Regions from separate parts of the Homo sapiens genome. Here all the other regions are linked to region 1. The links are contacts of gene promoters, found by promoter capture Hi-C in blood cells and fetal thymus (Javierre and others, 2016). All regions are on one chromosome and are shown on one strand. Each heading gives the region's core, a stretch centred on a gene start or on the middle of the fragment in contact. The rest is flanking DNA. Distances are from core to core; before and after follow the strand shown. Region 1 holds the start of TFRC (transferrin receptor). Region 2 holds the start of PAK2 (p21 (RAC1) activated kinase 2). Region 3 holds the start of NCBP2 (nuclear cap binding protein subunit 2). Region 4 holds the start of NRROS (negative regulator of reactive oxygen species).

What was found. Contacts are between HindIII fragments. The CHiCAGO score rates a contact against its expected background, and 5 or more counts as called.
Region 2: the fragment with the promoter of PAK2 here is called in contact with the fragment with the promoter of TFRC in region 1 in 6 of 17 cell types (naive CD8 T cells, non-activated CD4 T cells, total B cells and 3 more); the score reaches 12.0 in naive CD8 T cells.
Region 3: a contact is called between the fragment with the promoter of NCBP2 here and the fragment with the promoter of TFRC in region 1, in 1 of 17 cell types (fetal thymus). The highest score is 6.5, in fetal thymus.
Region 4: the fragment with the promoter of NRROS here is called in contact with the fragment with the promoter of TFRC in region 1 in 8 of 17 cell types (fetal thymus, total CD4 T cells, megakaryocytes and 5 more); the score reaches 12.8 in fetal thymus.

Annotation. Positions count from the first base shown.
Region 1 is chr3:196,080,811-196,083,510 of GRCh38, reverse strand. TFRC (transferrin receptor) reads left to right here and starts at 1,421. Exons shown (of 19, transcript NM_001128148.3): 1 at 1,421-1,468. RefSeq lists silencers at 1,099-1,438, 1,489-1,788 and an enhancer at 2,670-2,700. The HindIII fragment of the contact is 5,608 bases long and covers 1-2,606 here.
Region 2 is chr3:196,738,543-196,741,242 of GRCh38, reverse strand. It overlaps PAK2 (p21 (RAC1) activated kinase 2), which reads right to left and starts at 1,386. Exons shown (of 15, transcript NM_002577.4): 1 at 1,086-1,386. RefSeq lists a silencer at 806-1,595. The HindIII fragment of the contact is 10,729 bases long and covers 1-2,700 here.
Region 3 is chr3:196,941,259-196,943,958 of GRCh38, reverse strand. It overlaps NCBP2 (nuclear cap binding protein subunit 2), which reads left to right and starts at 1,431. Exons shown (of 4, transcript NM_007362.5): 1 at 1,431-1,533. The coding sequence starts at 1,456. NCBP2AS2 (NCBP2 antisense 2 (head to head)) reads right to left here and starts at 1,285. Exons shown (of 1, transcript NM_001355243.2): 1 at 416-1,285. The coding sequence starts at 1,242. The coding sequence ends at 943. It overlaps NCBP2-AS1 (NCBP2 antisense RNA 1), which reads right to left. Exons shown (of 3, transcript NR_046630.1): 3 at 1,425-1,566. RefSeq lists enhancers at 828-987, 752-1,425, 1,208-1,507, 1,558-1,697, 1,728-1,967 and 2 more. The HindIII fragment of the contact is 3,931 bases long and covers 1-2,072 here.
Region 4 is chr3:196,638,277-196,640,976 of GRCh38, reverse strand. It overlaps NRROS (negative regulator of reactive oxygen species), which reads right to left and starts at 1,283. Exons shown (of 3, transcript NM_198565.3): 1 at 1,102-1,283. RefSeq lists an enhancer at 527-646 and silencers at 1,097-1,196, 1,217-1,646. The HindIII fragment of the contact is 14,541 bases long and covers 1-2,700 here.

The sequences.
Region 1 (2,700 bases), core at 172-2,671:
GGTGTCTGAATGTTAAGGTAGGCCCTCTGTGGATGTGCATCCTTAACCTTTTCCTGATTAGATCATTAAAGGTGCAGCAATGCTCCTGCTCATATGACTTTTTTTTTTTTTTGAGATGGAATCTTGCTCTGTCGCCCAGGTTGGAGTGCAATGGCGCGATCTTGGCTCACTGCAACCTCCGCCTCTTGGGTTCAAGCGATTCTTCTGCCTCAGCCTCCTGAGTAGCTGGGATTACAGGCGCGTGCCACTATGCCTGGCTAATTTTTTTTGAAATTTTTTTAGTAGAGATGGGGTTTCACCATATTGGTCAGGCTGGTCTCGAACTCCAGACCTCGTGATCCGCTCACCTCGGCCTCCCAAAGTGTTAGGATTGCAGGCGTGAGCCACCGCGCCTGGCAACTCATATGACTTTTAAACACTTCTCTTTGGGGAGAGAGATTTTAGAGAATGGGAGTAAAGAGAAAGGCGGTGAGAATCCCAAGTACTTTCTCTATCTTAGAGCAGAAGAAATAAAGGGAAGAGTAAAAGCCCAAGGCCCAGAAACGGATTTGCTTCTTAAAGGGCTGTTCTGTGTCCCTACGGGCCTGAAGGTCAGTTTATGTGCAATGCTTTTTAAGGTATGGGTTGCTTTCTTGCATTGTAGCTACTACCTCCCTGGCCTGCTGGTTACTGACCAGAGGGAGGGAGAGGGTGTGATTGTTTGGAAAGAGTTTAAACAGTGACAAGAATTGAATTTTATTTATTTGTTATTCATTGCACAATCCAATAACAGCGATGGCAATGAAAACGAAAGTTAATCTACAATCCTATCACCCTATTAAGTCACTTGTTTCTATTTTCCCTTTTATTCCCTCATGCATTAAACATTACGCAAAGCACTCCGCTAGTCTTGGTTAAAGTGCAGCTTGTATACATTCTGAATAAAAATTTGCATTTTGCTTTTCTTTTCCTTTTTGTATTTCTGAGGCTGCAAAATACATCTTCACAAGAGTGGCTTTAATAGTTACCTAACATTCCATCCTGCACGTACATTTCAAGGCACTGCCGCAGTGCAATATCCAACATTTAAGCGTCAACGCCAACAGATTGGACCTAGCACTGCAGGGACTGGAGGTTGGTCAAGGTCAGGCGGAGGCTGCCAGGCTACCAGGGTGGAGGAAGGCGCCGAGGCAGAGGCCAGTGCGCCCATCGCGCGGCTCCTCGGGGCACCTGCTGCCTTGGCGCCTTTTCCCTTGGCCTTCGCCTCGCCCGCAGCGCCCTCCGCATAGGGCCCCGCCCGCTGCGCGCGCATCCCCGCCCCCCGGGCGATCTGTCAGAGCACCTCGCGAGCGTACGTGCCTCAGGAAGTGACGCACAGCCCCCCTGGGGGCCGGGGGCGGGGCCAGGCTATAAACCGCCGGTTAGGGGCCGCCATCCCCTCAGAGCGTCGGGATATCGGGTGGCGGCTCGGGACGGAGGACGCGCTAGTGTGAGTGCGGGCTTCTAGAACTACACCGACCCTCGTGTCCTCCCTTCATCCTGCGGGGCTGGCTGGAGCGGCCGCTCCGGTGCTGTCCAGCAGCCATAGGGAGCCGCACGGGGAGCGGGAAAGCGGTCGCGGCCCCAGGCGGGGCGGCCGGGATGGAGCGGGGCCGCGAGCCTGTGGGGAAGGGGCTGTGGCGGCGCCTCGAGCGGCTGCAGGTACACGGGGTCGGCGGCTGTGCGCAGAGGCGTCCCTGCGCCTCTCGTCCCTTCGCCTCTCGTCCCTTCCCTTCTCTCTGCCTTCTTGCCCGCCTCCTCGGTCACAGAGCGACGAATGACGAGACCAGGTGTACCCCCACTGTCGCTCTCAGCCCCGGGGACTTCGGGTCCTCGCCCTTGAAGGCCGCAGGCCCTAGTGCGCCGGCTCCGGGCTGCGGGTCCGGGAGCGCGGGCGCAGCCAAGGTGCAGCTGCGCGGCGTGCGGCGCCGGGGGAACACGTGGCTGCTCCAGGAAGTCGCCCCAGGGAACGGCTGGGATTCGTGGGTGACCTTGGGCTCCTAAACCTTCGGTTCCCCGGGCTCCGGGCGGGCCCCGTTCTCACTGCGGAAAGGGACAAAGCTGTCCCCGATTCGGTTACTAGCGTGTTACAGGCATTAATTAGATACGGGTTTCTGTAAACTTACCCTTCGGCTCTGGTACAACCTGATCTTGCCATGCTCTGCCTGTTCGCCTTGTGTGTGGATTCTGTTTTCTCAAGGCAGAATCCGACTGAACGCCGCAGGTGTTCACATTAAGAATATTGCTAGCAGTTCTCACTACAAGACGGGAGCCATAGGAGTGACTTATTTGTGAAAGATACTTGGAGATTAGCGGTGTGGTCAGAGGGCTGTGCTGGATTGATGGGCGCCGGAGAGGCCGATTGTGTCACATTCTGCTGGACAGTTCTTTTAAGGTTGGGAGGGTGGGTAAGAAAATACATTCTGATTCGGCTCTTTTCGGATAACGCTTTCCCTCTGCTTACTGCTTGTAGAGACCTCACTTACCCGGGGGACTGGATTCTGCAGCTTTTTCCATTTTCTTCCCCGTTGATAAGAGGATTAAAGTAGGAAATTGTATTTGGCTACCCCATGCTTATATGCTAAGCTTACTGTGAAAATTAAGGTTAGGCTGTCTAGAGTACTTGTGGACCCTGCTGGTTCCCCCCGCCCCCCGGCCCTGAATTTTGGGTTACAATATGCT
Region 2 (2,700 bases), core at 137-2,636, 660 kb before region 1:
ATCCTGCCTACTTATAAGAGCGGAAGAGTCGAACACAGCAGGGGAAAAAACGTGACGTGCACAACCTTGATCCAAAACACAGCTCTTCGTAGTTTAATTTTAGGCCTAACCATTTTGTCTTTTTATAAAGGTTAAAAAAGAAAACAAAGAAAGGACACATCGCCTGTAACGCAGAAGTGAGATAATGATATCAACCGGAGTTCGTTATTTATCAAGGGACAACAAATCACGCTCACACTGCCCAGGGAGAGTACTACTAAAATTAAGATACAAGGATGGGTACAACCTCACACCCACTGACGATGACACGCTTCTGTTCTTGGATGACTTATCTTTAAAGAATTAGTTAAAAGGTTGAGTGGCAACGTTTTGTGTTTGTGCGTGCGTGTGTTTCCAAGAGAGCCAAACATGGTGAAAAACCAATCTTAACTTCACCTAAGTTATCTAAAGAAGCAAATTTCACCCCTAGGCTGAAGCTCAAACAGGAGCGAGGAGAAGCTCCGAAAGATCAGTTCGTAAGCGGTGGCCCTCAAGCGCCCGGGACGCTCTACGTTTTTACCAATGTGGAATGTGGAAAAGAGGTTACAGGCTGGAGCTGAGAAAACAGTCAAGCTACTCGCGACAATATTCCTGAGCAGTGAAACGGGTGAACAGAGAGCGAGCAAGCAGGGGCTGAGAATCAGTGAGAGGAAAAATCAAGGAACAAAACCGGAGAGTCTGGTCCAGCATTAAGAAAACGGAGCAAAGGAAGAGGGTGAAACGCGAGGGGAGGGAAGACCGAGAGTCGGCAGAGACCGTGGTGCCGCGAGGTTCAGAGCAGGGCTGGGTCCAGGAAGAGTCAGACCTCCGCAGCCCAGCGAGCTTCCCATTTCTGGCTAAAGCCAGCGAAGAAAACGGCCCTGGGGAGCAGACAATGAGCCACCGCCCCAGGAGCTGCGGCTCCCAGCACGCAGGTGGCGGCTCCCCGGCCCCGCGCGGGGCAGGTCGGCCGTCCCGGGCCGCTCCCGCCCGCCAGGCCACGGAGAAGGAAGGAGGAGGAAGAGACCCGGCCTGCGTCCCGCGCCGGCCGGCCTGTGTGCACTTACCCCGGGCAAGGCAAGGTCCCCGCCCCAGCGAGGCGCCTCGGTCAGAGCTCCCGGCGGGCTGCGGAGCCGCCCCGGGCTAGCGCGCGGTGCGGGGAGGGGAGGGGAGGGAAGGGGAAGCGGGGCGGGAAGAGACGCCGCGCTGGAGCAGCCGCTGCTACCGCTAGGCCCAGCGGCGGCGGAGTCCTGCGCACGCCAGGGAGGGGAGGGGAGGGAGCCTTCGGCAATGGCGACGGCCCGGGCCGGAGGGGAAGCGGAACAACCGCCGCCGCTGCGCGTGGCCACAACCCTGGGGGAGGAAGACGGCGGGGAGCGGGGCGGGGCGGGGCCAGAACCCAGAACCCCTCCCGCCCCGAAGCCGGAGCTCCCCGGGGCGGAGACGAGCGCCACCTCCCATGGGCAGGCCCGCGCGGGGGCCGCTGGGAGTAGTAGTTCGGTGATAGACGTTGCTTTTATTCCTTGGGTAGTCTTTGTATTGAGAGGAGCAGCCAGTCCCTCATTTAATTCAGCATTGTCTCCAAGCAGGTCTCTGCCGACGGAAGACGCTGACAGACGATTGCTGTTATACACATCTGCTCCGCGACATTTGTTTCTGGGAATTCATCCGTTATCCATTTTGCTTTTTTGCTTACAAATTCTTAACTAAAATTTTGCTGCTAAATTAAGTATCACCTCCTTGCAAATTAAGACTTCCCTATTTTATCCACGGAGGAGTTCATCAATGTTTCACTTATTCTACAAATATTTGAGTGTCTGATATGGACTAGACACTGTTAAGCATCAGAAATACAAGGGTGGTTCAGGTGCGGTGGCTCACGCCTGTAATCCCAGCACTTTGGGAGGCTGAGGCAGGCGGATCACCTGAGGTCGGGAGTTCGAGACCAGCCTGGCCAACACGATGAAACCCCGTTTCTACTAAAAATACAAAAATTAGCTGGGCATGGTGGCACGCATCTGTAGTCCCAGCTACTCGGGAGACTAAGGCAGGAGAATCGCTTGAACCCAGGAGGAGGAGGCTGCAGTGAGCCAAGATCGGGCCACTGCACTTCAGCGTGACAGAGTCGTCATGCCTCAAAAACAAAACAAAAAACACAAAAGAAATGCAAGGGTGAACACGATTCACCAAGCCTTTGTGGAGCTTATATGAGGACGCAGTAATTAAAGTAGTCACACCTGGTATAAGAAAAAACTTGGCGAGGTTACTTTGGATAGGGTGGTCGGAGAAGGCCTCGTTAAGGAGGTGACACTTAAGGCAAGAACAGAAAGAGACAGCAATAAGAAGCACCCAGAGAAAAGCAATACAGGCAGGAGAAGAAAGAAAAGGGCTTGCTACGGTCAGTTAAGAAGGCCTGTGTAGCTGGGGCCTAGAACAAGAAGGCGGTACTATTAAGAAAACACTACAGCAGACAAGATTCAGGTCATGAAAGATCCTGAATGCCATGGTAAAAAGTCTATATTACAAAAAACCATTAAAAGGCTTTTTTAAGCAGGAAAGCGATGTTACCTGGCTTACACTTTAAGATCACTAGACTGCAATGTGGATAATGGAGTATAGAGATGCAAGAATAGAAGGGAAATAAAGTAGGAAGGCAGTGGAAAGAAAGAGGAATTGTGCTTC
Region 3 (2,700 bases), core at 182-2,681, 860 kb before region 1:
CTCCTGCCTCTGCAGTGGCTGGGATAAGACACAACTGCCACCAGGCCCTGCCCCTAGGCAGTAGTCTTAATGCCTGATGGTGGGGGGTTGGGGAAGGAAGGGGTTGAGTATCAGGGTAAATGCTGCAGAGCTGTGTTAAGGACTTAGGCCCTGGAGTCAAATGCCTCTGCTCACATCCCACTCTGCAAGACTTTGGGCAACTTAAGCAGCAGCCTCTGTTTCCATCGCAGTGGCTCTTGCCTATAATCCCAGCACTTTGGGAGGCTGAGGCGGGAGGATCACTTGCGCCCAAGAGTTCGAGACCACCCCATCTCTACAAAAAAATCCAAAAAGTAATCTGCTTCCTCATGTGAATGTCGTTGTAAGGAGTGAGATAACACATAGAGTGCAATGAGCAAGTCCCAGCACAGAAGACTCATTTCATAAAATACGTGTTTATTATTACCATAGGCCTACAGTCCCCGGTATTCTTAACACATCTTGCCTGAGAAGTATCACACTCATGCCTATCAACCAGCTCACACATTTAATCAAAGGAATTTGGCAGCTGTAGGGTTGTCTTTTCATCCATATCGTCCCTGGAATTAACTGTCCTGCTATACCAGTCAGATTGAGCAGCATCTGTCAAGAGTTTCAGTCCCACTTGCAGAGGAAAGGCTCTCTGGCTTCGGTCCGTGGCTCTCCGTAGGTGCCGTGTCTGGACCCAGCCTACCTTCATCTCTGTTAGGCTTAGGGCTGTCTCCACACTGTGTCTTGTCCAATCACAAGACTTCAACGGAGCGGGCGGTCTGGCCTAGGCTCTTATGCGTGGGATGTCTGCAGGCCAACAATCCCAGTCGGGATTCGAAGCCGCGCGCAGTGCCCGGAATGACCCCTCCACATTGATGCCACTGTAGAGCCCGGAAGGAAAAGCAAGCGGCCTCGGCCCCGCACAGCCCAGGATTAAATGTTTGCGCCAGGGCCCCTCTGGCTACCTGGTGGTGGCCCCGAGCGGCCTCGGAGGCCGCGGCGTAGCTCCTGGGTGAAGGCGTCTCTAAATCGCTCAGCGCGGCGGCACAGGGAGCCCACGGGCCCAGCCGCGAGGTCCTGCAGGCGGCGGGCCGCGTCCTGGCCCCGCAGCTGGGCCTGCAGCAGTGCGAAGGCCGTGAGCTGCGCCGCACGTCGGATAGGCCGCGACTCTGACAGACGTTCCACCAGCTGCGGGCTGTGCAGCAGGGCGGCCAGCAGCCGCCGCAGCACCATCTTCTCCAAGCGCCCGGAACCCGACCTCGCCGCCCTCGTCTTCCGCCCCGCGGCGCCCGACCCGGACGTCTATGCCCCCGCGCAGCTTGATGACGACACGCCGCCCTCGGATTGGGTCCAATGAGATGCTCGCCTCCGCGCGTTTCCGCTTCCGCCATCGCGGACGCAGCCTCGTGCCGGGAGTCGCCGCATTGTGGTCCGCTTCTCTGCACTATGTCGGGTGGCCTCCTGAAGGCGCTGCGCAGCGACTCCTACGTGGAGCTGAGCCAGTACCGGGACCAGCACTTCCGGGTGAGGGAGGCCGGGCCGCGAGACGGGAAGGCCCTGGGCAAGAACGCTGAGAAACGGTTTGCTCTTGTCTCATTGTGTCGCCTCCCATTCAGCTGAAATCCGCAAACGCCAAGTGGGGCCCCGGTGCCTGCTGGCGAGGCAGGGAATGGGTGCTGGAAGGGCGCTTGGATATCACTGAAGCCACTTGCTCTGGAAGACGGGGAACTGGAGGCTCGCTTATCCCATTCGCTCGCAGCCGCTCCCTGTACCCCAGCCAGTGCCGAGAGGTTTGAGCGGTGGTGGTGGTGGCGGCTCCCGTTTCCACGGTTGTGCCTCCGCAGACGACTACGTAGCAAGGGGGAGGGGTGCCCTTCTCTCTCCCAGAGTAGGCAGAGGCGCCTTCCTGATGCAGATGCGGGGCTTTTTGCTTTGTTTTTTAAATCGGCGAAGCAGTGCCCTTCGGCGATTCGGGCCCCTTCTCTGGGAGGATGGTGTTACGGAAGCTGTACGCGGTGCGTGGGAGACACAAGTGGAGTCCTCACTCCGCCCTCGGGGAAGCTTCGGAGTGGGGAGGTGGACCCGCCAAGCTCGGCACTTTGAGGGTGTTCGGATGTAAAGATCGGAGAATTGCTGGATTTCAGAAGAGGGAAATTTTTAGTCCGGACTATATCACAGTATATTTTGTGGAAAAAGGGGAGGCAGCAGATATTCAAAGTAGACTTTTCAGTATCAGCGGAGGTAGGGATGGAATACGGTTGGGGGTTGGCGGGGCGGGACTCATTAACCCAATTATTTAGTAAACGTTTATCGAGTGCTGTCGCCAAATCCTTGTGCTAAACCCTAGAGGGAGAGGGAAGACAGTTTCTGCGCTCTGCGAGCTCATAATCCCCTGTAGTGAGGATTCAGAAAAGGGAAAAATCCCCTTGTGACTGGGAAAGGAAGGGGCGCATATAGCAGAGGGTAAGTGTGGAGAATGTGTGAAATGTGTTACTAGAGTAGGGAAAGGGAAATTTTGTTTGACGCTAAATTAGGGAAGCTCTTAGATTTATTTAGTCAAGGCTGGGAACGGTGGCTCACGCCTGTAATCCCAGCACTTTGGGAGGCTGAGGCGGGTGGATCACGAGGTTAGGAGTTCAAGACTAGCCTGGCCAAGATGGTGAAACCCCGTCTTACTAAAAATACAAAAAT
Region 4 (2,700 bases), core at 34-2,533, 560 kb before region 1:
CTGTGTGTCACAGCCGGCAGGTGAGGAGCACACAGGAAAGCATGGAGGGCCACAGACGCTGAATGTTTCTAGCACCCAGACTCCTAACGGGCTGTGCCCATCATGAAGAAGCCTCCGGTGGGGTCCCCTCAGCCCCTAGGGAAGCACAGCAGCCCCGACCAGCCCTGTCCGGAGAGGCTCCATTCCTAGGACCCCCGATCCGGCCTCCTCCAGTCGCAGCCACCAACTGGCACGTGTCCACCTTCTCTCAGAGGCAGCACAAAGCCACACCAGTGGCTCCTTACTTCTTTCCGTCTAGCTCCTGGGTACGTGGGGAAGTACGCTGACCCCTTCAGAAGCCGGCCCACATGCAGGGGCCACGAGGGCTACGGAAGAGCGTCCGAGTCTTCGTCGCCCTCCTGTTAGTCTCCCTCTGATAAGCCATGGATCTAAGTCTAGGCTAAGATCCAAGTCACAGAGCCCCAGTGAATCTCCCAAGGACAAACGTTCTGTGGGAGAAGGGGCTTTGCACATTTTCACAGCTGTATCCCCAGGGCCTTGGACAGGCCTGGCACGTGGACGGCATCTGTGATAGGTGTTGCTGTTAACCAGTCTTAGTGTCTTCATCTATGAGATAGTGGTTCTCAATCCACGTTGTGGGACAGGAAAGGAGAGCCCAGTGCTCAGCATGCTGAGTGTGCACAGAGCGGTCTCATCATATCCAGTCGCCCAGCCCAGGGAGGGAGCATCTCTGTTCCCATTTTGCAGATGAGAAAACTGAGGCTCAGAAACCTTAACTGTCTGCTCACATGCTCCCTGCAGAGCCAGGACTCAAACCCACGTCTGAATCTGAAGCCCTCGTGGTTTCCACTACGTCGCACCACCTTTCTCAGCTCTAAGTGCTCCTGGAGGGAGGTATTTCCACCTCCACCCAGAGCTGCAGCCCCCACGCCCAGCACAAAAGCGGCGGCGCTTGGACGCAGCAAGCCACAGCTTCCTCGTGAGCCCTGAGCTGCGGGCCGCGGACGCTGACCTCCTACCACCCAACCTCGCTCGAGCTCGCCCACCTGGAGAAGGGCCCCGGCTGTGCCCCGGGGACGCCCCCACGCGGGAAATACTCACGGCTCCCGCAGGCGCAGGCGGCTGCGCGGGGCGCATCGTCTCCGGGGGCTCCGGCCTCCTCGAGAGCAGCCGAACGCGGGGCTGGGCTACCTCCTTGCTGTGGGGCATCAGATTATTTTAGCACCAGCGGAAGGAACGGACGGAAACTGAAGTCACATGGAGAGCGGGCTGCTCGGCGACTCAGCACAGGCTCACTCAGACCCGGCCTCTTAGAGGGAAGCGCGGCGCGGGCGCGGGGGTGGGGCGGGCCGGGGGAGCGGGGCCCGAACACCTGCCGGCCTAGCGGCCGAGCAGCGGGGATGTTTAGACGATCTTCCAGCAATGCGACCGAGGCTCCCCCGGCTTTCTTGCGTTGGTGCCTTGGCAGGGCTGGGGGCGGCCAGCTAGGGGCCCCTTGCCTATGAGGTCTGCTGACCCAGAAACTTTGCTACGAGCTTCCAGCCAAGGACCAAGCTGAGGCCGACTTTGGGAACGGCAGCACCGTGGTAAAGAGGCACAGCCTGTCGTCTGGCAGGGTCAGCCGCTCAGCCAGTCTGTCTTCTTATCCACTCAGCCGGTCCTTGTGGATCATCTCCTTTACGGACCCTGTGTTAGAAAGAAGGGGAATTGCTTTGTCGAGGACTGTCAGAGAGTGCCAAGAGCTTCTTGATCTTAGACTGCGCGGATGGGTTTTTTTGTACCTGATGTGTACAAAGTTCCCTGCCAGCTCTTGCCAAGAATTCAAAGGAGTAAGAATAATTGATCATATAGCCATCATTGAAGCAGCGCCAGACACTGTGCTAAGAGCTTCATATGCATTACCCCAGCGCTCCTGTTCTCGAGGAACTACTGTCGTCTAGAGAAGGTGAAATATTTACAGTGCCTGCTGCGTGTGGAGTGACGTGGACCACCATAGTCGGGGGCTCAGACAAGGGGCCTCCAGTTCTGATCTCTCTCACTCCCCTTCAAATCTGAAACGTTGAACTGTCCTGCAGGATTGGGTCACCTCTCTTATAGCCTGTGATTTGGGATTGTGTGTAGCATTGTCCATCCTAAGAGAACAGGAGCCAAGTCCTTTTCACTCCAAACATCTGGCACATTGTCTCTGCTTTCTACAATATTCACTCATGGCCGGGCACAGAGGCTCAGGCTTGTAATCCTAGCATTTTGGCAGACCAAGGCAGGTGGACCGCCTGAGTGCAAGACCAGCCTGGGCAACATACTGAGACTCCATATGTACAAAAAATTTAAAACTTAGCCAGACCTGGTGGCACGCACCTGTAGTCCCAGCTATTTGGGAGGCTGAGGTGGGAGGATCACCTGAGCACAGGGAGGTTGAGGCTGCAGTGAGCCAAGATCACGCCATTGCACTTCAGCCTGTGTGATAGAGTGTGACTCCGTCTTTAAAAAAATAAAAATAATTTTAAAAATAAAATATTATCTCATAATGGTAATAACAATCACACCAATGAAAAAGCTAAATAAAGATCAAATTGTTGCAAACCCAGGTGCTTGATTCAGGCCTCTTTCTCTCTTGTATGCACATTCTCTACTTCATGTCTTTTGTGTCTACCAATCAGTTGGTAACTCCCCAATTTTAATTTCTAGCTCCAACATTCT